Regions from separate parts of the Homo sapiens genome. Here regions 1, 3 and 4 are each linked to region 2. Evidence: promoter capture Hi-C in 16 types of primary human blood cells and fetal thymus (Javierre and others, 2016). All regions are on one chromosome and are shown on one strand. The core of a region is centred on a gene start or on the middle of the fragment in contact, and the rest is flanking DNA. Distances in the headings are between cores, read along the strand shown.

Evidence for each region. The method cuts DNA at HindIII sites, captures the fragments that hold promoters and counts their contacts. A CHiCAGO score of 5 or more calls a contact.
Region 1: a fragment that was not itself captured here is called in contact with the fragment with the promoter of H2BC7 in region 2 in 1 of 17 cell types (naive CD8 T cells); the score reaches 7.2 in naive CD8 T cells.
Region 3: a contact is called between a fragment that was not itself captured here and the fragment with the promoter of H2BC7 in region 2, in 2 of 17 cell types (M2 macrophages and M0 macrophages). The highest score is 8.3, in M2 macrophages.
Region 4: a fragment that was not itself captured here is called in contact with the fragment with the promoter of H2BC7 in region 2 in 2 of 17 cell types (M0 macrophages and monocytes); the score reaches 7.7 in M0 macrophages.

The regions. Positions count from the first base shown.
Region 1 is chr6:27,477,303-27,484,725 of GRCh38, forward strand. TRD-GTC2-6 (tRNA-Asp (anticodon GTC) 2-6) reads left to right here and starts at 2,372; the gene lies at 2,372-2,443. TRS-AGA2-2 (tRNA-Ser (anticodon AGA) 2-2) reads left to right here and starts at 1,510; the gene lies at 1,510-1,591. RefSeq lists a silencer at 2,425-2,484. The HindIII fragment of the contact is 3,440 bases long and covers 1,947-5,386 here.
Region 2 is chr6:26,194,705-26,201,298 of GRCh38, forward strand. It overlaps H2BC7 (H2B clustered histone 7), which reads left to right and starts at 4,812. Exons shown (of 1, transcript NM_003522.4): 1 at 4,812-5,284. The coding sequence starts at 4,855. The coding sequence ends at 5,235. It overlaps H2AC7 (H2A clustered histone 7), which reads right to left and starts at 4,589. Exons shown (of 1, transcript NM_021065.3): 1 at 4,080-4,589. The coding sequence starts at 4,539. The coding sequence ends at 4,147. It overlaps H3C4 (H3 clustered histone 4), which reads right to left and starts at 2,582. Exons shown (of 1, transcript NM_001376937.1): 1 at 2,080-2,582. The coding sequence starts at 2,546. The coding sequence ends at 2,136. It also overlaps the pseudogene H1-12P. RefSeq lists enhancers at 3,654-3,713, 3,744-3,803, 3,935-4,552, 3,964-4,033, 4,081-5,280 and 7 more. The HindIII fragment of the contact is 6,177 bases long and covers 4,750-6,594 here.
Region 3 is chr6:27,776,298-27,783,685 of GRCh38, forward strand. It overlaps the pseudogene RSL24D1P1. Among named protein-coding and RNA genes, the nearest start is that of TRQ-CTG6-1, 11 kb to the right of the region's middle. RefSeq lists a silencer at 1,586-1,645. The HindIII fragment of the contact is 2,981 bases long and covers 408-3,388 here.
Region 4 is chr6:27,754,673-27,761,275 of GRCh38, forward strand. No RefSeq gene overlaps it. Among named protein-coding and RNA genes, the nearest start is that of TRV-AAC1-5, 4.5 kb to the left of the region's middle. The HindIII fragment of the contact is 2,133 bases long and covers 2,299-4,431 here.

The DNA of each region.
Region 1 (7,423 bases), core at 2,417-4,916, 1.3 Mb after region 2:
GGTGGTGGCGAGAAGCAATGTGAGGGTCAGGGCAGGAACAGCTCTGGGAACAAAGCTTGTCTTATTATACAGATAAAGTCTCTCAAGTAGCAGCCCTCAGAATAGGTGGTGAAGAAAAGAATTGAAGTCTGGCTGGGCGAGATGTCCCGGGCATGGAGACCTTTAGTTTTCTCTCCTGGGATCTGAGTTAATCTTCTCTGGTTAATACAGATTCCAGGAGAGGGTTCATGACAATCTCTTTCCTTCTGGAGGAACCTCCGTAAGTCAAATAAGGGAAACTTCAGTGAAAGCCCCTCCCTGCCATTCAAGAAAGAAAGAGGATCAGGAGGCAGTGGGGCTGCGGAAGGTCAGAGAGACTTTGATTCTGAGGTTGCTTCTTTAGTTCAAAGTACTCAGCACTTCCAAGAGCCATACTTTGGGGTATCATTTTCTGAGCTCTAACAAGGGTCCTCAGAAAATCTCTGTCTCTTCCCTTCCCGGTCTTCCTTCGTTTCTCCTCTTCCTCTTCCTCCTCTTCTTTCTCCTTCATCCTCTTCTTTCTACCTCCTGTCCCTCCTTCCTTTCTCTCTTCTCCTTTCTGGTCACTTTCTTCTTTTCCTCTTCCTTCTTGTCCCTCTTCCTCATTTATCTACTTAGTCGACATGATTTCTTAGCTTGCGATTGTTTCCCTCTTTTCTTAGATTAGTATATGGTTCCAAGAAGTAGATGAAAGCCAATTACAATAATCTGTGCATCCAAAGGGCTCAGGGAAACTCCAGGACCGGCAGCTTTAGACTTCAAGACGGAAGCATAAGAGGAAAAGAAAACATACTGCGTGGGTTAGATTTTGAGAGAAGGAGCGTCTGCCTTGGCCAAAAATCAAAGTAGGATCTTCCTTTTGATAGGTAACCTGGTTCCATGGGAACTCATGAACAATCTATAAATTTCTTTCTTAACCCAACTGAAGCGTGGAAGCGCATTGTGAAATGCAAAATGCCGTGCAAACGAGACCGGGTAGATATACTCCCTTGGGTTGGTGTGAGCCTAGAGACTTAGGGACCTCATCAGAGCAAGAAAGTGCAAGTAGGCTTTTCTGCATCATTTTCTGGCCCTCCAGTTCAGACACAAATCAAAAGTTAGTCCCTTCTTGAAAGCCATTAGCATTCATCAAGGAGCCTCAATGAGAGGAAGTTTCAAACAAAAACTAAATGTGTCAGGCCCAGATTTACGGTGAGGGTCTGATTCCACTTCCTTGCGGGGTCAGTTTGGGTCCAGGTGAGAGAGGTACAGTGGTCTCTAGTTTTCTGGAAACGGTACTGCTGATAGGGCAAGGACTCCTTGCGGCTGCCCCAGAGAGGTTGGCTTGTCTTATCCAACTTGCACTTCACGTTAGAGTTTCTAATGAACTCGCAGACTCCAGTTTCTTGCCCAGGAAACCATTTTTACCGTATTTTGTTCTTTTGACCGTTTCTTGTCAGTTAGCTGGTGTAAATTCTGTTTAAAGATGTGAAGGGAGCCTTCTCCATTCGTGTAGTCGTGGCCGAGTGGTTAAGGCGATGGACTAGAAATCCATTGGGGTCTCCCCGCGCAGGTTCGAATCCTGCCGACTACGGGATGTTTTACTGAGAACAGTTCAGCGAGGAAATAGGATCTCACATTTGCTTTCAGTTTGGGAGTAAAGAAACTCGTGATAGAGCCTCTGCGTGTCACCTAACATAGCCTGAACTTTTGCCGACTTCGGGATGTTTTACTGAGAACAGTTCAGAGAGGAAATACGATGTCATATTTGCTTTCAGTTTGGGAGTAAAGGAACTCGTAATAGAGCTTCTGCGTGCCACTTAACGCAGCCTGAACTTTTGCCGACTTCGGGATGTTTTACTGAGAACAGAGAGGAATCGTATTTACTTCAGAGAGGAAATACGATGTCATATTTGCTTTCAGTTTGGGGGCGAGGGAACTCGTGATAAAGCTTCTGCGTGCCACTTGACGCATCCTGAACTTTAAAAATACATCTGCAGACTCTTTATCTATTTTACCTCAACGGAGCGCAGGTATTGGTCCCACCTCTGCTTTTCCTGTCTTTGAAACCAACCGATGCACCTTTCGGGATTTGTAACTCCTATGTTAGCTAGGGCTCCAACCATGGTTGAACATAGACGGAAACCAGTGCGTCACAAAGGAGGCTAGCGAGAGTTCTTTTTTAAAAGGGTCTGACAAAGCGTCCGAGGAATGAAGGAGGAACTGGAGAGGATTCGCGGTTGGGCGGAGACACGTTCGCTGAATTGCCTTGCGTATATTTGGTAGGGGAAACGTGTGACTACAGAGCAAAGAAAGATGGACAATAGCGAGTAACTTCACAGGGATTTCCTAAGAGCTCCATTTTCACGTCAATTCCTCGTTAGTATAGTGGTGAGTATCCCCGCCTGTCACGCGGGAGACCGGGGTTCGATTCCCCGACGGGGAGGAGGCTTAAACTTTTTTTTAGAAAAGCACACTTCCGGTAAACACAGTCTCTAGTCTTCTGGGCAAATGTTGGGTTCTCTTTTTCTTTAGCAGAGTTCTTTCAAACCAACGAAATACTGATCGCAAAAACCATAAGCTGTAGAAATCATGAGGTTCTGTAATAGCAAGAAAATTTCCACTCTGCACTGTAATCTCCATCACAGTGGAGAAACCGGGTAGATACCATCTTACCCAAGTGATTGAATCAGTATTGGGACGAATCTACATTATATACCTTTTTTACAGGATGTGCTCATGAGAGCACAACGTCACTTTTGTGGTATTCTTGGCAAAAATATGTAATCTAAATCAGAAAACATCAGACAAACCCATATTGAGGGAGATTTTAACAAAATAACTGACTTGTACGCCTCAAAAACTGCAATTACTTTTGCATCAACCTAGTAACAGGCAAGCAGGGAGGAAAAATAAATAAATAAATAAATAAATAAATAAACAAATAAATAAAATAACAAAGTTACAGAACACAAAGAAAGGCTGACTAAATAGTCCACATTATAGAAGATCTTAAAGATATGACAGCAACATATGGTCTGGAATTTTTATCTTAAAGGACATTATTGAAATAGTTGGTGAAATCTCAATAAAGTCTATAGATTTTATAATATTATGAATGTGAATTCCTGATTGTATTAATTGTTCTATGGTTATAGAACAAAATGTCTTTAAGAAAATTCACACCTATTTACAAAATACGTATTTAAGGGTAAGGGGAGGTATGTGTCTTCAAACTCACTGTCAAATAGTTCAGAAATATACATTTATGTATATATATGAGAGAGAGAAGGAAAAGAAAATATAGGAATATCCTTAATGTGCTAATATTGAGGGAATTGGGGTGAAGGGTGCTCAGGAATTATCTGTATTATTCATGTACTGTGTCTGTCAGTCTAAAATAATTTCAGAATGGAAAGTTAAAAGGAGAAAAGCCTAATAAAACTATAAATGAAAATATACGAATTAAAATGTAAAAGGGCAAATATACAATTTTGAACAATGCATATGACAAGAGTGACGACTACATTAATGAATAGGAATTTAGAACTGATGAAGGAGTGGGATTCAAAATGTTATAAGTGAGCAAGAAAATTCATAACATGTGACAAAAGCTACATAAAGAGTGAATGCCTGAAACAACATTGTTTCGTAATGATTACATGTTGGAATATGAAAACAAATGGTACTAAATTTCAAAACAGCAACGACAATATAAAATGGAAAGGTATGGCGAAATCCAAATCATTCTAAGCTCCTTTATAATAAGGTAGGAATTAGAAGTGTACCTAGTATATACCCTCGACCAACGCTGAATGGATGAATATTAAAAGCAATATTTTTGTGAGCCATAATCAAAGCCAACAGCATTGCTTCTTTAATGAAAGAATACTCTTCCAGCATATAACAATATGTCTGATTTTGTTTTAAAAATACTTATTGGCCAGGCGAGGTGGCTCATGCCTCTAATCCAAGCACTTTGGGAGGCTGAGGCGGGTGGATCACCTGAGGTCTGGAGTTCGATACCAGCCTGGCCAACCTGCTGAAACCCCATCTCTACTAAAAATACAAAAATTAGCTGGGTGTGGTGGCGGGCACCTGTAATCCCAGCTACTCGGAGGCTGAGGCAGGAGAATCACTTGAACCCGGGAGGCGGAGGTTGCAGTGAACCAAGATTGCAGCATTGCACTCCAGCCTGGGCGACAGAGCAAGACTCTGTCTCCAAAAAAAAAAAAAAGAAAAATAATTATTATTAACATTTTTGTCATGAAATTTTGGCCATCAAATTTAAAAGTTAATATTATTGTGCAACACTTTCAGCCAATGGATTCTTTTTTTCGTTAACACTATTGAACAGTAGAGTGATTGATGCCTCATCCTTTTCACCTAACATTGAATCTCGTTTGTCTCTATTACTTCCTTTTAATCTATTATTTCTTTTTTAATCTAGAAGAAAAATGATTCATCGTGGATAAGAACTATAAAGCAATTGTTTTGTTTGTTTGTTTGTTTCTGGCTTTTTTTTTTTTTTGAGACAGAGTCTCGCTCTATCGCCCAAGCTGCTGTGCAATGGCGCAATCTTGGCTCACCACAACCTCTGCCTCCTGAGTTCGAGCCATTCTCCTGGCTCAGCCTCCCGAGTAGCTGGGATTGCAGGCGTGTATTTTGAGTAGAGACAGGGTTTCACCACGTTGGCCAGGCTGGTCTTGAACTCCTGACCTCGTGATCTACCTGCCTCAGCCTCCCAAAATGCTGGGATTACAGGTGTGAGCCACCAAGCCCGACTTAAAGCAACTGTTTGAAGGCACTGATAAGCTGTCAACCCAGGCAAGGCTTGACAAACTACAATCCTTGAGAGAAGGGAAGCACATTATATGAGTTTGCACATTTGAAAGTGCTTTCCTCCTGAAGGTGTGTCCCGTATTGCACCATTGTGGAATAGACCTCATGTGGAAAGAGGCAGTTGTGCTGGACTAAGGAGATACTGGTCAGAGTTTGGGGCTACCAACGTGCATAGAACTTGATGGTCAAAATTCAAGTGATGAGGGAACCACAGAGAAAGATCTCAAATTTGTATTATAAATTCTCCTTATATTACTGGCTAATTCCTAAGTTGTACCTACACAGGAAGATGTTCCAGTACAGGAAAGAGCAACTGGAAGGCTAATGATCTGTAGAGATCCAGTAGCTGCATGGTTCTAGGGAGACAGAGGTTGATGTTCATGCCTCTCCCAGTTGGAGCCCCATTGGTAAAATGGCTGTTGTTTTGAGACTTCAGAAATACTAACCCTTAGCACTAAGTGATAAACCTTTAAAGTAAGGACCACATAAAAGGAGTAAGGCTATGCCTTCACAGCAAGGAAAAACTAAACTAGACAAATTGTAACAAAGCTTCAGTCTTTGTTGTATCCGGGAAAAACTACCAGAAGACTCTGAATGTTTGGAAATAAAGCAGTTTGTGTCCTACACTCTACAGGTCAAAGAAGAAAACACAATATAAATTTTTAAATGTTTTAAGCTGAAAGATAATGAAAATAAGACGTATCATAATTTGTCTAATGCATCTAAAGCTGTTTATAGAGAACAATTTTTACTTTTAACTACATGTATTACAACAATAGAAAGATTGAAAATCCATGATCTAACTCAAGAGACTATAAAAAGCCAGCAATTTAAATGCAAAAAGTACAAGGAGCTATTAAAAATAAGTGCAGAAATCAATAAAATGGAAAGCAAACATACATCACAGAAAATCAACAAAGTAAAAGTTTGGTTCTTTGAAAAGATTGATAAAACGAATGTACCCTGAATAAGACTGATTTTAAAAAGAGGGTAAGATAACACATGAATACTAGCATTGGGAATGAAACAGATTATATGTATGTGTGTGTGTGTATGTGTATATATATATATATATATATATATATATACATGCACACATATATACACCCTAAAGATATTTTAAAAACAAGAAAGAGGTATTATAAATGTGTTTATGTCAATATATGTGAAACATTTGATGAAATAGATATATTCCTTGAAAAACACAATATGGCCGGGTGCAGTGGATCACGCCTGTAATCCTAGCACTTTGGGAGACCGAGGCAGGTGGATCACCTGAGGTCAGGAGTTTGAGACCAGCCTGGCCAACATGGTGAAACCCTTTCTCTACTAAAAATACAAAAATTAGCCAGGCGTGGTGGCACATGCCTGTGATCCCAGCTACTCTGGAGGCTGAGGCACAAGAATTGCTTGAACCCGGGAGGCGGAGGTTGCAGTGAGCCAAGATCGCGCCACTGCACTCAAGCCTGGGCCACAGAGTGAGACTCCGTCTCAAAAAAAAAAAAAAAAGAAAGAAAGAAAGAAAAAAAGACAAACAATATGCCACAACTGACACCAAAAGCAATAGGAAATCTTTATTGCCCTATACTTATTGGAAAAATTAAATCCATAATTTAAAGAGCCACTCATATACACTTCCAGGCGTAGGTAGATTCACTTGTGAATTCCCACATACAAGTAAGAGATAAATAATATCAGTCTTTCAGAAAGCTATTCAGAGAACTGAAAAAGAGAAAACATTGTTCAGCTAATTTAACTACACAGACATAATTCTGATACCAAAACCCAGAAAGAGAGTACAAGAACAGAATATTACAAGCCAATATTTCTTTTAAACATAGACTCAAAACTTTTTACCAAAATATTAGCAAAGTAAATAAAGCATATTATTTTAAAAGTCAAAACATTATATTCAAATCAGATTTACTCTAGAAATGGAAATTTGGTTTAACTTTTTTTTTTTTTAAATTTATTTTTTTATTGATAATTCTTGGGTGTTTCTCACAGAGGGGGATTTGGCAGGGTCATGGGACAATAGTGGAGGGAAGGTCAGCAGATAAACAAGTGAACAAAGGTCTCTGGTTTTCCTAGGCAGAGGACCCTGCGGCCTTCCGCAGTGTTTGTGTCCCTGATTACTTGAGATTAGGGATTGGTGATGACTCTTAACGAGCATGCTGCCTTCAAGCATCTGTTTAACAAAGCACATCTTGCACCGCCCTTAATCCATTTAATCCTGAGTGGACACAGCACATGTTTCAGAGAGCACAGGGTTGAGGGTAAGGTCACAGATCAACAAGATCCCAAGGCAGAGGAATTTTTCTTAGTGCAGAACAAAATGAAAAGTCTCCCATGTCTACTTCTTTCTACACAGACACGGCAACCATCCGATTTCTCAATCTTTTCCCCACCTTTCCCGCCTTTCTATTCCACAAAGCCGCCATTGTCATCCTGGCCCGTTCTCAATGAGCTGTTGGGCACACCTCCCAGACGGGGTGGTGGCCGGGCAGAGGGGCTACTCACTTCCCAGTAGGGGCGGCCGGGCAGAGGCGCCCCTCACCTCCCGGACGGGGCGGCTGGCCGGGCA
Region 2 (6,594 bases), core at 3,562-6,061:
ATTTTAATAACAAATTTCCCCCAGTAAAAATTTAAAAAAAAAATTTTTTTTTGACCCTTAAATGAGTCAAACTCTGTCTCTTTTATGTCCTTTCGTGGATCTCTCCTGAGTTCAGCTATGCAAACAGTCCCAATATCAGGAGAATCAGTGATCATTGTATTTCCCATTTTCCCAAGGAAACGTTGAACATTTACTGGAACCCTCCCAAAGTAACTAAACGTCCAAATAGTTACAAGAAGCTATCATGAAATATTTTCAGCCCCAGCTAATTTTATCAGAAAGGGCTGTTGTTCTAAGTATCCGTACTGCTGTTCTTGTGGAGAAATTCAAAAAGAACCTGTTGTTTCTCTTCTCATATAAAACAGATTTCCTCGTTAAATCTCAATGAAAATCAAGTAGTTGTTCAATGTATGAGAAGCCAAAAATGTGTAGGCTATTATTAGAAGACAGCAAACAATTGAAGACACGAATGGAAGAATTTATATTTTAAATGAAAATCAAGAAGTTGTCCCTCTGAACTGTGAATCTCTGAAAGTTGGAACTTTTGATAAAGGCCGAGGCTGCCTTAAGTAAAAACTAGAGAAAGAAAATGTAAAGATCATAACACCGTAGCCGTTCCAGTTCATTGTAGAATAGAATTGGTGTGATTCCTCCTCAGGAAATTTAAACTATTTTGATTTTCTGAATTTCCGCAAACACAACTCAGAAACAGGGTTGAGACTAGGTTGCTGCCAAGCTGAAAGACTGAGCTGGGAACCAATCAGCGCGCAGCGTGTCTGTGTGTGACACACACGTAATCACAGACACACTCGCAGCCTGACTTTTTTTTTTTTTAACTGTTAGATATCCAAACCTACAATCATGTCCGAAACTGTACATGCCGTGACTCCTGGTCTATCTCCCAAGTCAAAGACTGAAGTAAAGAAAAAGGTTGCAAGTCCGAAGTTGCAGTGAAGTGCAAGATGTCCAGGCCCCTCCGGTATGTGAGTTCATCACTAATGACTTAGCCGTCTCCAAGAAGCGCAGCGGCCTTCTCTGTGGCCGCGCTCAAGTAGGTGTTGGCGGCTACGATATGAAGATCGGCCCTTGCCGGTCGCGGTGGCCTACGTTTGTAATCTCAGCATTTTGTGAGGCCAAGGCGGGAGAATCTCTTAAGCTAAGGAGTTGTTTTTGGTGGTTTTGTTTGTCCTTGGGGATTTTTTTTTTTTTTTTGAAGGAGTCTAGCTCTGCTGCCCAGGCTGGAGTGCAGTGGTGTGATCTCGGTTCACTGCAACTTCCGCCTCCCGGGTTCAAGCCCTTCTCCTGCCTCAGCTTTCCATGTAGCTGGGACTGCAGGCGTGTGCCACCACACCCGGCTAATTTTTGTATTCTCAGTAGAGACGAAGTTTCAATGTGTTGGGCAGGCTGGTCTCGAACTCTTGGCATCACGTGATCCGCCCGCCTTGGCATCCTAAAGTGCTGTGATTACAGGCCTGAGCCACCTCGCCTGGCCAAGCTAAGGAGTTTTGAGGCCAGCCTGGGTAACACAGTGAGACCTCGTCCCTAAAAATAAATACAAATTTTTAAAAATTATTTGAATAAAGTTGGGCCTTGAAAACAAACGAGGGCATCTTCGTGCTAAGGAGTGCAGCGCCTCAGGTTCATTCCCGCCAAACCAGGCAGTGTTAGGAAAATCAAGACCGAGGCCAGAAAAGCCGCTGCAGTCATGCCCAAGACAGCTGTCCTGGCAGCCGAGAGGCCCAAGAAAGCTTGGGGCGTCCTTATTCCGAAAAAGAGTACTAAGCGGACCCCAAAAGCTTTTGCTGGTGGAGGCTGCTGGAGAAGGTTGGTTGGTCAAAGGTGGCCAAGAAAGTTCCCAAGCCGGAGGCATCCAAGCCTAAGAAAGCGGCCCCCAAAACAAGGAGATATAAGAGTACCTTAAAGGCTGTTTTAAGAACTCCCCAATTATAATAAAGCTTTTTGCACCAATTCCGTGAGGGGAGGGGGAACGGATAGAGGCAAGAATGCTTACTTACCTTGAGTGAACAGAGGTTCCAGTTTACGGACAGCAACAGTAAACAGCAACTTTTATAGAAAAGGTGGTTGGCTCTGAAAAGAGCCTTTGGGTTTTGGTTAGCACACATTCACAAGACAATTTACGCCCTCTCCCCACGAATGCGGCGAGCAAGCTGGATGTCCTTGGGCATGATAGTCACTCGCTTGGCGTGAATGGCGCATAGGTTGGTGTCCTCAAACAGCCCCACCAGGTAGGCCTCGCAGGCCTCCTGCAGCGCCATCACCGCCGAGCTCTGAAAACGCAGATCAGTCTTGAAGTCCTGCGCGATCTCACGGACTAGACGCTGGAATGGCAGTTTGCGAATCAGCAGCTCGGTCGACTTCTGGTAGCGGCGGATCTCGCGCAGAGCCACCGTGCCGGGCCGGTAACGGTGGGGCTTCTTCACGCCGCCGGTGGCTGGAGCGCTCTTTCGAGCAGCCTTGGTGGCCAGCTGCTTGCGTGGCGCTTTCCCACCCGTGGACTTGCGAGCAGTCTGCTTGGTACGAGCCATTGCGAACTTCTAAACCCTGCTAAATGACGAAAAAACGAAAGTCTAGCCTTTCGTACCCGTATATATAAAGACACCCCTGTTCTGATTGGACAAGGCAGCCTTTCCCCTGCAGCTCGATTGGTGGAGACGCCCACTCCCTGACAGAACATCTCCTGCATGTAGACCAAATATTAAAACTTTCCTCCGTCCATCTTTAACTGCTGGTGTTTTCAACCCTTTCCCCTCTGTGCCATGTTTCTAGCTTTTATTTAAAACGTACTTTGGTTTTCCTTGGCAAAATTGTGTCTAGCTACTAGGATGACGTGTCTTAATTTTTTTTTAAATGTTGGCGCTGAAACTGGCTTTGATCAACGTTTTAAAAAGACGCGCGCTAGTTGTGATTGGCCAAGTGATTTCTTTTTACCCTCTTAAGTTTAGAAAGGTTAATTTCATATCTTGATTTGTCTATTTAAACTTGGAGATATTTTCAATAATTTGTTCCAAATGCACCATGACTATTAACTCATAAGTAACAATATGAAACCTGATGTTAAGCTACATGAACACATTTAATTTCACCACAATATGTCATCCTCATATGAAAGCACTCTTATCTTTTACAAGTTCAACTGGTATTTGTGTAATCTGCTGTAAAAAAAAAAAAAAAAAAAAGCCAAATTTATAAATGGCACAAAAAGACCAGTGTGCCCTTTTAGTCATGCTGAACACTGTGCTAAGAAGCTCCACCTAAGGGCCGTCTGGCTCCAGGGGATGTAGGTTTGTATTCCTATTGATAATTAATTAGGGTTAGCTCAGTAGAGTTGAAAGTGGCTTGCAAAAACAAACCCAAAAAATACTTACAAATTACAGGTTATTTCGTATCATTAAGATGCATACAAAAGACAATAAAACATTTGTTCTGGTTCTGTTGCTTTAAGTCACTAACTATATTTTTATGTAAATGTAAACACTGACAAACATTAACTTCTCTCCTGTATGTCTCAGGCCTTTTAACAGCTTTGCAATCCTAACGAGCCGCTGCATTGATCGATTTAAATTACATGTGACATAAAGTCTCTTTGCATTTTAATTAGTTTGCTTTTTTGGGTTTTTGTTTGTTTTGAGACAGTCTCGCTCTGTCGCCGAAACTGGAGTGCAGTGGCGCGATCTCGACTCACTGCAACCTCCGCCTCCGGGGTTCAACATTTTCTCCTGCCTCAACCTCTTAAATAGCTGAAATTACAGGCGCGCGCCACCACGCCCGACAAATTTTTTTATTTTTAGTAAAGACGGGGCTTCACACCATGTTGGTCAGGCTGTCCTGGAACTCCTGACCCTGTGATCCGCCCACCTTGGCCTTCCAAAGTCCTGGGATTACAGGCGTAAGGAACCGCGCCCCGCCAATTTGCTTATGTATTTTTATGGCATCTTTAAAATGGACGGTTAGTTTCACGATTCAGTGTTAAGAACACCCACTTATAAATGGAAAAATTATTAAAGAAAACTGCAAAATAGCTATTTACACAGAAAATGTGAGCCCTTTTAAGGAATACATGGGTGGCTCTGAAAAGAGCCTTTGTTAAGACTGCTTCCTTAAAAAGCCAATATAAGAGTTCTCGTTTTACTTGCCCTTGGCCTTGTGGTGACTCTCAGTCTTCTTGGGGAGCAGTACAGCCTGGATGTTGGGCAGAACACCGCCCTGAGCAATTGTGACTTTACCCAGCAACTTGTTTAGCTCCTCGTCGTTGCGGATGGCCAGCTGCAGGTGTCGGGGGATGATGCGGGTCTTCTTGTTGTCGCGGGCGGCGTTGCCCGCCAGCTCCAGGATCTCGGCGGTCAGGTACTCCAACACCGCCGCCAGATACACTGGCGCGCCGGCCCCGACTCGCTCGGAGTAGTTGCCCTTGCGGAGCAAGCGGTGTACGCGGCCCACAGGGAACTGGAGTCCGGCCCGCGAAGAGCGGGTCTTAGCCTTAGCTCGGGCCTTTCCGCCTTGCTTGCCGCGTCCGGACATTTTGAATTCTTAAAAACGATGTTAAGCAATGAAGACAAAAATGTAAAAGTGAATTTTGTTAGCAAGTGAGAAACTATTATACTTGGAGGTCGAATTGTAAATAACGCTATTTGATTGGCTAGAACAACCAACCAATTGCAAAGAAACGCTAGAATCACCTAATTTGCATACCACAGGGCACACAGAGACAATTCATCCAATCAATGTGTAAGCTTTTAAATGCCAGTTTACGATAGGAGCTCTACAAATATTACCAGCTGCAGAGTGAGGACACTTGCATTTCTCTTTAGGTTGTGGACGAAGTGTTTATTTATCATGCCTGAACCTGCTAAGTCCGCTCCTGCTCCAAAAAAGGGCTCCAAAAAGGCGGTGACCAAGGCGCAGAAGAAGGATGGTAAGAAGCGCAAGCGTAGCCGCAAGGAGAGCTATTCCGTGTACGTGTACAAGGTGCTAAAGCAGGTCCACCCCGACACCGGCATCTCATCCAAGGCCATGGGCATCATGAACTCCTTCGTCAACGATATCTTCGAGCGCATCGCTGGCGAGGCTTCCCGCCTGGCGCATTACAACAAGCGCTCCACCATCACCTCCAGGGAGATCCAGACGGCCGTACGCCTGCTGCTGCCCGGGGAGCTGGCTAAGCACGCCGTGTCAGAGGGCACCAAGGCCGTCACCAAGTACACCAGCTCTAAGTAATTCTAACGTCTTCATACCCAATCCCAAAGGCTCTTTTAAGAGCCACCCACTTTTTCAGCTATAGAGTTGTAATTACCTGCATATTTTCCGTGTTTACCACCAACAGGTTTGGTTTTATCCTCATTTGAGGGGGTTGCTGCTGTGTAGGTCTAGACCACAGTTCTTTTGACTGGTTGAAGGAAAATGCTATACTTAACCGTAGCATGTTTGTTTTACCCCAAGTGCTGGTTAGAAGGCTAGCCCATTGTGCTGATAAGCACATTTTTCTTATGTTGTGCTGTGATGTGTCCCTTGTCAAATTGGTTTCATAAGAAAAGAACTTTTGAAATATCTCTTTTGCTACTGACATAGTGTGAGGGAAAGGAATGTCTTCCTTAATTCCGGTTTAGTCATCGCAGCATTGGCGAATTTAGCTGGTTAAAATAATGTAATCAAATTCTTTAAAATATAAGGAAAGCAAGACAAGTAATGTGCATGAAAACTGAAAAAATGTGAACACCCGAGCCTGGATGCAGCACTAATAATCAACATTGTTCTTGGTTTAGTTAAAGAAAATTTGGCCACTGGCAAAATACCATTTGGGAGTAATGAGACACACCCCTAATCCTAAAATATTTTCTTGTCACTTCCTCAAAGTTGTTTTTGACTTTTTTTCCTTCAGGGTTGACTTCATATGTGTTCATTTTATTCTAATAAGCAAAAGTTGTAATTTTTAAGTGAAAAAATAATTTATGTCATTCTACTTACAAATACAATTTTTCTATTCTATATACTCATATATAAAGATACTGAAGTTTTACTGTATTCTTGGTAATTACAAGCCTTACTTAAGATCATAAACTGTTATGAATGGCATCCAGTGTAGAATACTTAAAATTTTTACAAAATGTTTTTGTATCTTAAAAATATTTAAAATATTATATATAAAAGATTCTTAGAATTTCAACCCAGTTAAGAAAAAAGGAATAGTATTCTATATTATTACTTTTTTTTTTTTTTTGAGGAGGAGTTTCGCTATTGTTGCTCAGAGTAGAGTGCAATGGCGCAATCTCGGCTCACAGCAACCTCTGGCTCCCGGGTTCAAGCGATTCTCCCGTCTCAGCCTCCCGAGTAGCTGGAACTACAGGCGCGCACCACCATGCCCGGCTATTTTTTGTATTTTTAGTAGAGACGGAGTTTCACCATGTTGGTCAGGCTGGTTTCGAACTCCTGACCTCAGGTGATCCACCATCCTCAGACTCCCAAAATGCTGGGATTACAGGCGTGAGCCACCACACCCGTCCCATAATTATTTTTCAACTTCCCACTCCCTGTCCGGCACATAAATGGACACAGAACACAGCACATGCAAAGCATATA
Region 3 (7,388 bases), core at 648-3,147, 1.6 Mb after region 2:
TTGGCACCAGGGACTGGTTTCATGGAAGACAGTTTTTCCATGGACAGGGGTTGGGGGAGAGGGGAATGGTTTCAGGATGATTCAAATGCATTACATTTATTGTGCACTTTATTTCTATTATTACATTGTGATATATAATAATTATACAACTCACCATAATGTAGAATCAGACGGAGCCCTGAGCTTGTTTTCCTACAACTAGATGGTCCCATCAGGAGGTTATGGGAAACAGTGACAGATCATCAGGCATTAGATTCTCATAAAGAGTGGGCAACATAGATCCCTCAAATGGGCAGTTTACAATTGGGTTAGAACTCCTATAAGAATCTAATGCCTCAGATGATCTGACAGGAGGTGGAGTTCAGGCGGTAATGAGAGTGATGGGGAGCAGCTATAAATACAGATGAAGCTTCACTGGCTCTCCTGCTGCTCACCTTCTGCTGTGTGGTCCGGTTTCTAACAGGCTGCCACTACCACTGACCAGTACCGGGTCAGTGGCCCAGGGGTTGGGGCTCCCTGCTGTGATAGTTAATACCCATGGCTCCAAATCTAGTGGCCCCACGTCAGGTCCTGGTGGGACCTGGTTCAGTTTTGCTTAGGACTCATCTTGTCCACATGAACCATTCCAGCCTGCTTTCTCATGCTCTTATTCTGGGATATCTTCCTAACCCCAGTATATCTGCCTCAGTGTCTCACCCTGTCTTTTTAGAAAAGGAAAAAAAAAAAAAAAGAAAGAAAACGTAAATGAAATTGGTGGAGAGTAATGGCCACCAATCCTATGCCTGACCTGGAACTGGAAACACAAGGCTTTCCTGAAGACAGAGAAACTCTGAGAAAACGGGAAAAGCAAGTTGGTGAAAAGAGCAAAATAAAAGTTTCAGAAGGGACTTTCTTGACATAGCACAGGATGAAGGAGTATCAAAGGTCTCTGTTTGGGCCCTTGGCTGGGAAAGCCCACATTCGCTGAAAGTGAAAGCTGTCCGCAGACATAACACCAAAGGGTTAGGGTAGGAAGCCCCTTTTTATGAATTCAACGGCAGGGATAGGGGTGGGGATAAGGTGGGGCTGCGTGGGTACACCAGGCGCCCGGAAAGCTGCAAAAGGCGTTAGGTCAATATGCAAAAATACTTCTAGGTCAATACGCAAAAATACTTCTAGTGTTGGGAAAGAAATTTTATTGGGGACAGGAAACAAGCGAACTGGCTAATATACTTTCTCTCTAAGGAGAGTAGTCTGACTTAATGCCTTCCTCGATTCTCTCTAAGGGCTTCTGAGGGCTTTGCTTGACTTTTCTCCTGTTTCTGCTCCTGAGCCCAAAGCAGCTCTTAAAGAAAGAAATGTCAGGTTTTGAAGCATGTTTGGTAGATTTGGAAAGGGCAACTCGCAACTTGAAGGGGATTGTTGGAATCAACTGGTTCTAGAGTGAGCTGATCTTAAGAGGCCAAGAGGAAAAAAGAAAAACCGGGAAAGAAACAGTGAAAGAAAAACAGAAAGAGGCAAAACAGTGTAACAACAACAACAACAACAACAACAAAATGGCTGATCACCTGCATGATAAATAAGAAGAGTAGAAGCGTGTTTTCCGTTAGCAGAGTGGCGCAGCGGAAGCGTGCTGGGCCCATAACCCAGAGGTCGATGGATCTAAACCATCCTCTGCTAAAGAAGGGTGCTTTTTTTTTTTTTTTTCCCCCCCCCCTTCTTGAGGAATTACCTTCCACAGTTGTGGGGAGAAGATGGCCTCTAAATATATATTATATATATTATATCTCTCTCTCTCTCTCGCTCTCTCTCTCTTAAAAGTCCTTTCAGAGGCTGTATCTCACTTTTAGATATGTCTTCAGCATGTTCCTTCTCCTTTCTCCAAATGTTTGCGTAACTCCTTTCTTACTCATATCTTATTTGGAAAGGCATATCTTACTTGGGAAGAGGAGGTGACAATTCTCATGTTTACTTCCAACAAATTACCTATCTTCCAGTGAATAGAAAATACACTGAGGTTGAATATAATTTTATATTTTCTTGCACTCGAAGGCAAAACACTGTTACTGACTTTTGCCTGAGACCATTGGTTATTGTAAATCGTTATTGTCTTTTTGCTTCTACGGGAGCCTCCTGCTTCTTTTGCTCTTTTGTTCATCTCTATGCATGATTTATTAAATTCATTTCGTGTACTGTGAATTCTTCTCTAAAGCTATCTGTTACGATGGCCAAAAGACATCATTTATACCCTCCTCCTTCCATACTTACAGAAACTAGACACATGGAATGTTATGAGAAAGAGAAGCAACAATGAAGTTAAGTGTAAAATGGTTGATTCTACTTGGATAGATTTTTTTAAAAAATGTAAATGGTAGAAAACATAGGGGTACATTTAAAGCATTTTGTGAATCAGAATTCCATGGGCAAACTCAGAAGACCAATAATCTTTATTTTGTCTGCTTACCTTCTAGAAGCATTTTAACTAACTTTAAATGTCCAGGCATAAGAGATTGGTTGAATAAACTGTAACATGGACTCAAAGAGGAAGCGCTATGGGGCTACAAAAAAGATATAATTTCTAGGAGATAGTGTTAAGTAAAGAAAGTGCAGATGAATATTATAGTAGGCTACCTTTTTTCAAGAAGGAAGGGGAATTAAGAAAACATACACATACCTGTTTTTCTTTCTGAAAAGAAAACATAGTGAAGATAAACCAGAAAACAGTGAATCTGGCTACCTAAAATGGTGGTAAGAGACTTGGGGGAAATGGAGTGTAAGGGACATGGGACGCCACTTCTCTGAGTTTACCTTTTGTTATACCTTTAACTTTTGAAAGCATGTGAATGTTTTACTTTTTTTTTTTTTAACGGAAGAGGTTCTCTGTGTGAACATGTTGACTAAATACAAAAGGGTTATAAAAGGTCTTTGCTTCTTTAAAATTTCTGAGTCATCGTTTTGGCAAAATAAATAACTTATAGCAATCTGGAATTCCCAAAATCAAACATCGGTTTCAAAAATCTCTTCCCTGGCACCTGGCTTTTTGAATACTTCAGCGGGCCCCTGAAGTGTCCAGAAAAGACAGGTAAACAGGATTATTTGACACGTTTAGGTACATGGGATTGCCAAAATGATGCTCAATCTTCTTTAGGCTATATTTTTGTGAATAATACTAATATATATTTCAAAATTGTATGGGATTTCTAAAATAGTATAAGCTATTAATTATAGTTATGTTAAGTTATTGTAAACTGCAGAAACAACCAAATTTTCTTGTATAAAGCTACTAACCCAAGTAAAACAAAAACTTAATTAAATATCAAGAAAATAATTTCATGTTAAACCAGCTAATACTGAAATTGTTTAAAATAGTTTATAACCAATGCTTGATGCCATATTCCTGGGAAAACAAAGCTTCAGATATGTTTGGTCACGTGGTCGCCCATTTAAACATTTTATAAAGGAATTTTATTCATTTGTTATTTTCTTTTTCTGTTTATTTTTTCTTTTTAAATGGTTTCATTTTATGTGCAAATAATGAACAGATGTTATACTCATAAATTCTACTTTCCAAAAACAGGAGCTTTTTAAAAGAAAACCATATAATAACTTTTAAAAGGCACTGGGATTCCTCTGCTTCTAGAACATTGCTAGGCTAGAAAAATAAAGTTTGTTCTACCAGCAGTCACAAGTTAGAACTGAGTATTCTCCAAAATGGAAATTCTAGAGTGTAGTGTCACTCCAGGCAAAGATTATTCAGTTCTCATCCCCAATATCCACAACTACCTATCAGAAGGGTTAAACCAGGTCAAAACAGTCCAGAATAATTAGGCTTCATCAAACAATGTCATTGTGCTCTTCTAAGATACAAATAAACCAAAACAGGAAATACTAAAATCAAAATAACATTTGACACTGTTATACAAATTGTTAGTTCCTTGTTGTATCCCCCCTTCTGTAACGTTAATAAACGGAATATTTTATTGCAAAGAATATTTTATTTTATACATCACTAGCCATGAATTTTTGCCATTAGTTGTTATACAAATGCTGCCTAGTGCCATTATCCAAATAGCATAACCATTTTACATCCACAATTCACTTCTATAGTTAGAAGTAGAATTTTCATGATTTACATACGTACATCTATCAGTGAAGATTTAACACTGAGATGCAATCTAACATTCGTAATATCTGATGTTTTGCAGATGTCAATGTAGGAAAGATATGTTTTAATCACTTTTCATTTAAGTGACCTTATGTAAAAAATAAACTAATAATTTAGCAGTTCCAAGTCTGTAAAGGACATTTTCAAATGTACATAAAAGAAATGGTTACAGAGATTTTTAAGATGTGTTTTCCATGCCTACATGCTCTTGTAACTGCTGTACCATTTTCTCTTCCAGCTGCTTCTCTTTGCCTGCAAGAGGGGCTTGAATAAGATGGATGTTTTGCTTGACTTCTTTGATATCCTGAACTTTCTGTAGCTCTTTATTTTTATTCAGTCTGTTCATTATAAATTTAGCTTGGCATTTCTGTTTGATTTCTTCAATTTGCTTCATTGCATCAATAGTTTTATTCCATAGCTCTCGCTGGTATTTGATAGGTTCATTTCTACGTTTTTCAAATTCAAATGAATTATCCACTGTAAGCTCTTTACCAGCTGCATTCTGGAATGCTTTGATCCACCTAGCTTTGCGAGGACTGCACTTCTTTTAAAAGTTTTTATGACATTTAGATTTACAAAATCTGAACAACTTGCAATTGTTGTGGACGAACATCATGCCGTGACCAGGGTAGATGGGCCCTGAACAGAAATAACACTTCTCAATACACATGTTGAACCCACGTGGGTCCCCACCAAGCAAACACCAAGCTTGAGAGCTCATTTGTTATTTTCAGTGCATGTTTTCTGGTTGTATAAAAGGTTTCCTATGCAAGAGGGCTGATGTTATAACAGTAGATTACTACAGTGTATTTTCAACAGGCAAAGAAAGCTTTTTATGATTTGAATCTTCTAGAAGCATCAGAGAAAGACTGTTCTTGCCATTCACACTACAACAAAACTTTGGGATCTTGAACTTTGAGTTCATAATCTCACAACTGAGAAGGGTCCCTCCAAGCTCTTGGAGCTGTGTGCCCACTGGAACCCTTAAGGTAAAATTAACCAAAGAAATTTCTCCCAAGAGGAGAATGGCATCCTTACTATGAACAGCTTTTCTCACGTTCACAGATTAAGACTTCTACTGTCGTGAAACTTATCTTCGAATATTTTTTGTTGCTTATGCCTCTACAAAAAAATAGAAGTGGAAAAGGTGTCTGTTATGTGCACTTATGGTGTATACTCTTACTTGCGAAGGAGTTTGTAACCAGCTTTTTAAATGGGTAAACTTATACTTTGATAGATAAAAGATGAAGGCCCAATGTAGGTAAGAAACTTTAAAGGTACATGCTTTGCCTCATAATCAAAAACAAAACATTGGTTCACTCCTCTTAACCCACATCATGGGTTAAAGAGAACATTGCCAGAAGGCCTTCACTCTTCTAAAAAGGCATCATTTGTTAGGTCCTTTTTCCATGGTTTAAAGAAAAAGAAGCAATGATTAGAAATATATCCCTCACAATAGGTTCTATAGCAAATTCTACTGTAAAGGCTATAGTTACACAATAGACTCTAAATTACCTTGTGAAAGTTATGATAGAATTGGCTAAACAGAGAAGTATCTGTGCAGCTGCTGGCACTTGTGGCCTATGGAAAAATACGTCAAATGAAGATTACAGAAATTCAGTGGTAGAGGATTGACAAAGAAATTGCTAAGTCAAGTGAGTAAATTCTTTATCTAGCTGATCCTTTGATCTATTTGATTTTAAGAGGTTTGGTTTATGGGGACCTTGGGTAAGGAGCACACTCCAAACTCTTGGTATCATCCTCCCAATAGTCATAATAATAGTCTCCCTGGTGCACTGCATTCCCTCGAAGGTTTTAAATGCTTGCATGTAGCCATCTCCAGAATGTCAAATGGTCTTTCTTCAGCTGGAATAACAAGAGCTGAAGGAAATGTGCAACCATGAGGACCCCTTAACCTATGAATGATGTGCTGAGACCAGAAGCCCAAAATGATGGTAACTGAGAGCAGCACTAAGGCCCTAAGTTTTGGTTACACTCTCACCTGAGAACCTGACCAAAAAGGGGAAATTTTTTTAACAAAATTCTGGAAGGCCATTGTTTCGGACTAGGCTTATGCACTAGGCCCCAACAAACCAAACCAAACCAAAAGGGAGTCACTTCTGCTAAGACTTTAAGGAAACACATAGATTTCTAGAACAAACCAGGTTTTGTTTTTTCTCCTGCAAACCTCTATAACAAACATTTCTGAGAGCATAGGTATCCACCCCCGAAGTTCCCATTAAATCTTTTAACCAAATTCATTTCCTCTTGCTTAGAAATCATCAAGCTTCAGATGATCATGAAACAAAGGTTCCAGCCACCTCCATGTGAAGACACCACCCCTGGCCATCAAGAAGCTACCTTGCCTTCACTAGACAGAACAGGGAGAGAGTTCCATGATCCACAATAGGTAGGGACTACGCCCCAAGGTAGCATGAAGCAGTTACAGAAAAAAGACCATCAGTCCCTCTGCCTCCCATAAAGATTTATGGGGATCACATCTCTCAGGGAGGAAATGAGACAGGAAAATAAGGTCTGGAGGCAGGGAACATAAGGCCAATTCATACTTCAGCTATAAAAGGAAATATCCTCTCCATAGGGCATATGCTGTAAATGACTTTGTAACTTTACCTCATCCTGTCTGTTTATATAGGGCTTCCGAAGTAACAAATAAGAATTCTCTAGGGGTTAAACTCCTGAAAATTCTGTAACGGGGCCTTTGAGCCCCTAGGTTCAGGTCCACTCCCACACTGTGGAGTGTACTTTCATTTTCAATAAAACCCTTAATTCCTTCATTGCTTTGTTTGTGAGTTTTGTCCAATTCTTCGTTTAAGACGCCAGAACCTGCACACCCTCCACCGTTAACAGTTACCTAAAATGGTGTTGGTGGTAAGAGACTTGGGGGAAATGGAGTGCAAGGGATATGGGAGGCCACTTCTCTGAGTTTACCTTTTGTTAGACCTTTAACTTTTGAAAGCGTGTGAATGCTTTACCTTTTTTTTTTTCTTTTTTTTGAGACAGAGTCTGACTGCGTCACCCACACTGGAGTGCAGTGGAGCGATATGGGCTCACTGCAATCTCCGCCTCTCAGGTTCAAATGATTCTCTTGCCTCAGCCTCCCGAGCAGCTGGGATTACAGGCACGTGCCACCTTACCTGGCTAGTTTTTGTATTTTTAATACAGATGAGGTGTCACCATATTGGCCAGGCTGGTCTTGAACTCCTGACCTCAGGTGATCCACCCA
Region 4 (6,603 bases), core at 2,115-4,614, 1.6 Mb after region 2:
GAGCCCCAATTTCTTTGCAAATGCCAGGCAAGAAAACCTCAAGTAGATAGAGAAGTAGAGAGCAGATGATTTGATTTTTTTAAAAAAATTCTACCATAGTGTCCTTATCTTATCCATGCAACTTGTTCTGATCTTCATCTTTCTAGTGCCAGAAAATGACCCTTTTAGGAACCCGGACCTGTAAGACTGAGCTCTTGGGACTATTAGCATTTGTTACAGAGCAGGTAAGCTTCAGGATGAGATATACTGGGGAACAGGTACAAGGTTACAAGATTGGATTCTATGTCACAAATAATTATTTCTCTGGAATGTGACAGTTCAATGCTATTTGATTTAGAAAAGGAGGATAAAACGCTCGTGTATTTTTTTCTTTTCTTTGTTCTTCTCTCCCTTTTCACTGTCTTCCTCTATCTACTTTCACTGCACACCTAGAAGCAAGCTGCCTTCTTCCAGATTCCTCCTTATAACTTCACTTTGCATATAAACACCACACACTCTCTGTGCTTAGAGGTGGTGGTTGGGCTGCCAGACCAGTCTGGAGAAAGTCTGTGCTTACTTTTTCCTCTACTTAGTATTCTTTCTTCCATGGGTGCCAGGAACAGAGAGCCCCTTCTCACCTTGAGATCATGTGAGCTGGTAGTAGCTGGATCATGAATAATTGGAATGCTGTGGGTAACAACTGAAAGAAAGACTGTAATTCCCAATTAACAAATTAGACTGTATTTCCCAATTAACAAATCAAGACCAGATTAGCAGCAACAATGATCATTAAAAATATTGTTAAAGAAAAAAAGAAAGAAAAAAGATAAAAAATATTGTTAAACTGGACATAGTGGTGTACCTGTAGTTCTAGTTACTCTGGAGACGAAGTAAATCAGGAAGATCACTTGAGCCCAGGAGTTTGAGGTTGCATGTGCAATGATTGTGTCTGTGAAAAGCCACTGCCCTCCAGCCTGGGCAATATAGGGAGACTCCATCTCTAATTTAAAAAAAATTGTTGTAAACACATTTATTTCATATTAATTAAAATAAATTATTGGCTGGGCACAGTGGCTCATGCCTGTAATTCTAGCACTTTGGGAGGCTTAGGCGGGATGATCACTTGAGCCATGAGTTCGAGACAGCCTGGGCAACATTGCGAGATCCCCATTTCAAATTTTTTTAAAAAGAAAAATAAATTATTGAGCTACAAACAATGTGCCAGACAATTGTGACCCTATGTTGTCACTAGGAGTACCAGAGGCATGCAGGACAAGATTACACAATCCTAACTCTCAAGGAGAAGAAAGAGGAACATGAGCAGCCAATATGCCATAAGCAAAAAGTGGAGCAACAGACGTACAGATTGCGAAGCATTTGGATGGTAGTATAGAGAGGAGGCATCTTCTTAGTCCTTATGAACTGGCAGGGCAGATCTGGCAGGGATCTTTGGAGCCAAAATATCTGAGTACAATTCCTTCCTCTGCCACTTTCTCATCATATGTAGGGTTTCAGGCAAGCTATTTGGCTTCTTCATGACTCTGTCTGTGCTGGTAAAATGGATATGGATACAGTGTGTACCTCATAGAATTATCATAAACTCAATTAAGAAAAACTCCCTGAAGTGTTTCAGACAGTGCTCAACTTACAGAAGTAGTTACTGCTTTTATTTTTAGTATTACTTTTAGCCTTGTCAAGCCTCCTGAGTCAAGATCTATCCCTGTCATTTCGGGTTTACATTTGAGCAAGTTAAGGCTTGAACAATGTGCTGAGGTTATGCTAGCTAGGAAAGGACACCACCAGGTGTGTTTGTCTCCAGAACTGGTGTTCTTGACCACCATGCTATACTAGGTAGTTTTATAAACCCCTGTTTATGACAAAAAAAGATTATAGAGAATATTATGGACCTCCTTATTTCCATGATCCTACTTCAACAATTAGTCTCTCCTCCCTCTGCCAAGCCCCCATGATAATTTAAAGCAAATTTAGACATTTTCATCTAGCAACAGCTTTTTGTGGCATTTTCATAGCATATGCTTCCATTTAACTTTGTAGTTAATGAGGAAATTTGTTGAGCTGTTCTCCCCTGGGCGGGAGAGATGCCATGCAGGGAGTCCTAAGCTTCCCATTGTCCCTCAGATCAGTAAAGAAGACCAGCCCTAAGCTGCTGACCACAGGTTCATGGGACTCTTCTGAGGGAATGTGAGGCCCAGAACTTACGCTAGTGATTCTCCAGGTGGACTATTCCTAAGATTCCTTGCCATACCCCCTTCTAGTGCAGAGGGTCTCTGGTATGGCCCACAAGTCTTAATTTTTAGAAGCTTCCAGGTGATTCAGAAGCTGAGGACCTTTGGGAAGATTTTGACAATCCTTTCATTAATGACAAATTTGTTTCATCTTAAAAAACAAAACTTCATCCTTGTATGTGTGGAGGAGGACACTATAGTGAAATTAAAGAAAAAAAAAGTCAAATTATCTGCTCCCTCCATCTACCTGAGGTTTTCTTGCTTGGCATTTGCAAAGAAATTGGGCGCATGGGTGAATACTTTGATTGCTATAAAGAGTAGAGTTTGGCCGTTGATTTTAGTACACTAAAAGTGCAAGGGCAAGAAACATACCAGCACCTTGACAGTTTCTGGGAAGAAACTTAACGGCACCTTCTGGACCCAATCTGCGTGGCGCAGTGGCCTAAAGAGGCGACCGAACCTGCATCCCTAGCTCCGCCTTCCCGGTCCCTGCACACCCCGGCAGCTTCCGCGCGATTCTTCCCGCCCCCGACACCCGCCGCCACACAAAGGCGCTGCGTCCTGGCGGCCAGCGGGGGCTTAGTCTAGGCCCGGCAGGGTTTTCTGGAAGACCAGAGGGCCACCAGGTCACCGAGGTGGGAAGTGAAGAGAGGTTCGACGCTGCCTCAGGCCTGGGCCTGGCCGGTGGGAGACACAGCAAGGACTCTGGGAGCCTGCAGAGCAGAGGCCGCCGCGGGGCCGGGCCCCCGTCTCCTCCTCAGGTCCAAGACCAGAGGGTCTGCAGGGCCCCAGAGCAGCTGGCCGCGCTCCGCTTCCCACCGCGCTCTCTGCTGGAACTCATGTGGTTGTTTATCCTTATTTTGCTAAATTTCTTTATTTGCTGTAACAGTTTGTGTGTGTGTGTGTTTGAGTGTGTGTGTGTAATTTTCAGGGTTTTCTATATATAAAAATCATGTCACGGCCAGGCTTGGTGGCTCACACCTGTAATCCCAGCACTTTGGGAGGCCAAGGTAGGAGGATCGCCTGAGCCCAGGAGTTCGAGACCAGCCTGGGCAACACGGGCAACATAGCGAGACCCTAGTCTCTAAAATTTTTTTTATTAGCCGGGCATGGTGGCAGGCGCCTGTGGTCCCAGTTACTCCGGAGGATGAGGCAGGGTAATCGCTTGAACCAGGGAAGTCGAGGCTTCAGTGAGGCATAATTGCTCTGCTGCATCCCAGCCTGGGTGACAAAGAGAGATCCCATCTCTCTCTCAAAAAAAAGTCATGTTATCTGTGAACATAGATAATTTTACTTTTTCCTTGCCAATACTGTGCTGAATAACATGGTGAAAGTGGGCACCCATTATTCCTGATTGTAGGAGAAAAATTTTCAGTCTTTCGCTGTTGAGAATGATATTAGTTGTATGTTTTTCATAATTGGGCATTATCAAGTTGAGGAAGTTTCCTTCTATTCCTGGTTTACATTGTGTGTGTGTGTGTGTTTTGTTTGTTTGTTTTGACAGAGTCTTGCTCTGTCACCCAAGCTGGAGTGCAGTGGCCGCGATCTCGGCTCACTACAGCTTAGACCTCCAGGGCTCAAGCAATCCTTCGACTTCAGCCTGCCAAGTAGCTAGGACCATAGGCGTACAGCACCACATTTAGAAGTCCCTGAGAAAATTATCTTGGAGGAAAACTCGCAAGTCCGACTATTGGTTTTCCAAGGAAGCCAGTCTCGCCTGTGAGGAGGGATCCTGCTCGCCCTGGGAGCCTACTCAGACACCATGGGGAATGGGGGGTGGGGCTCAGAGCGCGCAGGCTTGGTTTTTTTCCCCCTCCGAACTCCTGAGTTCCAGTGATCTGCCTGACTCAGCCTCCCACAGTGCTGGGATTACAAGTGTGAGCCACTGCGCCTGGCCTATTACTTGTTTTAATAATAACAAAAAACAGCAAAATCTTGCAGAAGGTTGGAAGGTAACCAAGCAGCTTAGCTTCAAACCACGTTTTAAAAACTTTGTTTCTTTTCTTCTTTCTCCCCAGTTTCTAGACATAGCTTTGAGACAAACTGCAGATGTGCTTTCTTTTGTCGTCAATTACTGCCTTGGAATGGGCATTAAAACTGCCTTCCCTTTCGCATCTTATGCCCCCATGCCTTATGCTCATTTATTTACCTGGATGCTTGTTAAGCTCATACCATGCCCACTTATCTGGTCATATATTTCCTTAGAAGCTTCAGGGGCTGAATCCTGATGCAGACCAGACATCTCCAGAATTCTCTCTCCAGTAGGAGATTAATTCAAGGACAATATTCACTCTTGGCTAGAGATTATCTGCAAGATTGACTGTCATTAATTTGTAACTTGATTGGGCCTACAATGTCACTGGCCCCTTCACCAGGTGAAACAATAATTCAAGATAAGCCATCAGAATGAGACACCCACTGGGCACCTCCTGCCTCTTGCCCCTCTGCATTACAAGCTCCTCTCCTTGAAATGCTTGGCCTCTCTCCAGAAATTGGAGAGTGGCAAATTTTGGCCAGCCACTCTCCCCATTGCTAGCATGGATAATAAAACTTACTCTATTTTTAATTACACCTCATTCCTTTTTTTTTCTTTTTTTTTTTTTTTTTTTTGAGATGGAGTCTCACTCTGTTGCCCAGGCTGGAGTGCAGTGGCACGATCTCAGCTCACTGCAGCCCTGCCTCCTGGGTTCAAGCGATTCTTCTGCCTGAGCCTCCTGAGTAGCTGGGAGTACAGGCGCACGCCAGCACACCCAGCTAATTTTTGTATTTTTAGTAGAGACGGGGTTTCACCATATAGGCGAGGCTGGTCTCAAACTCCTGACCTCGTGATCCGTCCGCCTCGGCCTCCCAAAGTCCTGGGATTACAGGCATGAGCCACCACGCCCGGCCTCATTCTTGTTCTTTTGGCTTTTTTCTACAAGTGACAATCAGCCAGACCCTCTTTCAGCTACAGGAAGAGTTTGATAAAGAGAATGCCTGAGCTCAATCTTGTGTGTTTTAAGGAAACAGAAAAAAAGGGAAAAGAAAAAGTCTTTTCCTGCCTTGTACCTCTGTCTAACTAAAAAGAGAGGCAGCTTCCTCACAGAAAAATATCACTGATCTTAAAACTGAATTCAAAGAACTGAAGAAGGAAGTTTCTAGTGTTTCACTTCTGTGGATTTGGCCCAGAAAAATCCACAGAGAAGGTGTTAAAGTCAGGTAATTTATCCTGCATCCCTTAGAAAGCCCTAGAGCCAATCAAAACTCTCCCCAAAGGGCTGAAATCAGGCTCTGAGGGTTGTGGGAGTGACAGAGCCATGTAAGCTCTCTGGATTCACAGGTTTAGGTCACTGCTGATGGATTCAATTACTATGGGAGGACATTTCATGCTGTCTAATTTTCATTCAATTGGATGATTCTCCCAAATCCTTCGTTCTTTACCATAAGTTTACTCATTATTTTAGCTTTACCTCAAGGCACTTTCCCCTGGGAATTTTTCTGAGACCAGTGTGAGTTAGGTGTACTTCCTGTGTTTTGATTTGTCATACTAAAAATCTTACAAGTATGAATTTCTACATGAAATAAAGGTAAGATCTTAATCTTAACAATCTAGGTCTTAGATTTCACGGTATGGGCATTAAACAAGTGTTTATTTCTGTATAGCCTTTTTGATGAGTACCCAGCAATCCCACTTCTACGAATGTCTATCAGTGAAATTCCAGCTTAGCTCTGTAGTGGCTTCATAGAATCCAGTCATTGCAGCAATTTCAGGCAGCAGAGAGTTGGGGCAACCTGCATGTCCATCACCAGAATGAGTAAGTACTGCAGTGAATACAAGTTTGTGTGAAGTTTCATGCTCTGCAGGAGTCACAACTAATGAAGCAGAGGTACATGTATACCAAAAACAGGTGGATTTTTCAGTGCAAAGTAAAATCTAAGAAACAAAATGTATATCAGGATGTATAGTACAATACCAAAATTAAAATTACAGAGTTACACAAAATACAGTGGGTGAGGCAGTAGCTGAATGACTAATGCCAGAGGGAATGGTGGCAAATTGTGTGAAGAGGGGAAGAAACTAAGTTAAATTATCTGATTGGCACACTTGCCACCTCTTGGAAGACACCTGATTACACTCAGTCCCCTGCCCTCTTGCTGGCCAGGAAGATAATTGGTCACAGGTGGCCCCCTGACCCCACCTCACTCCACAGTTTCTTATGGCAAAGCGTTTCCTTGACAGAAAATGCTAAATGTCGCCAAAGCCCCTCCCTTGGGGTCCTGGTTTCTAAAAAGTCTTTTTTTCTGTAATCAAGAGGTTAATGTTTGGGTGTGTTGGAAGGATACAGAAAAAGGCATAGCACAGTATGGACAATGGTCTTGAAATAAAATTCCTCCTTAT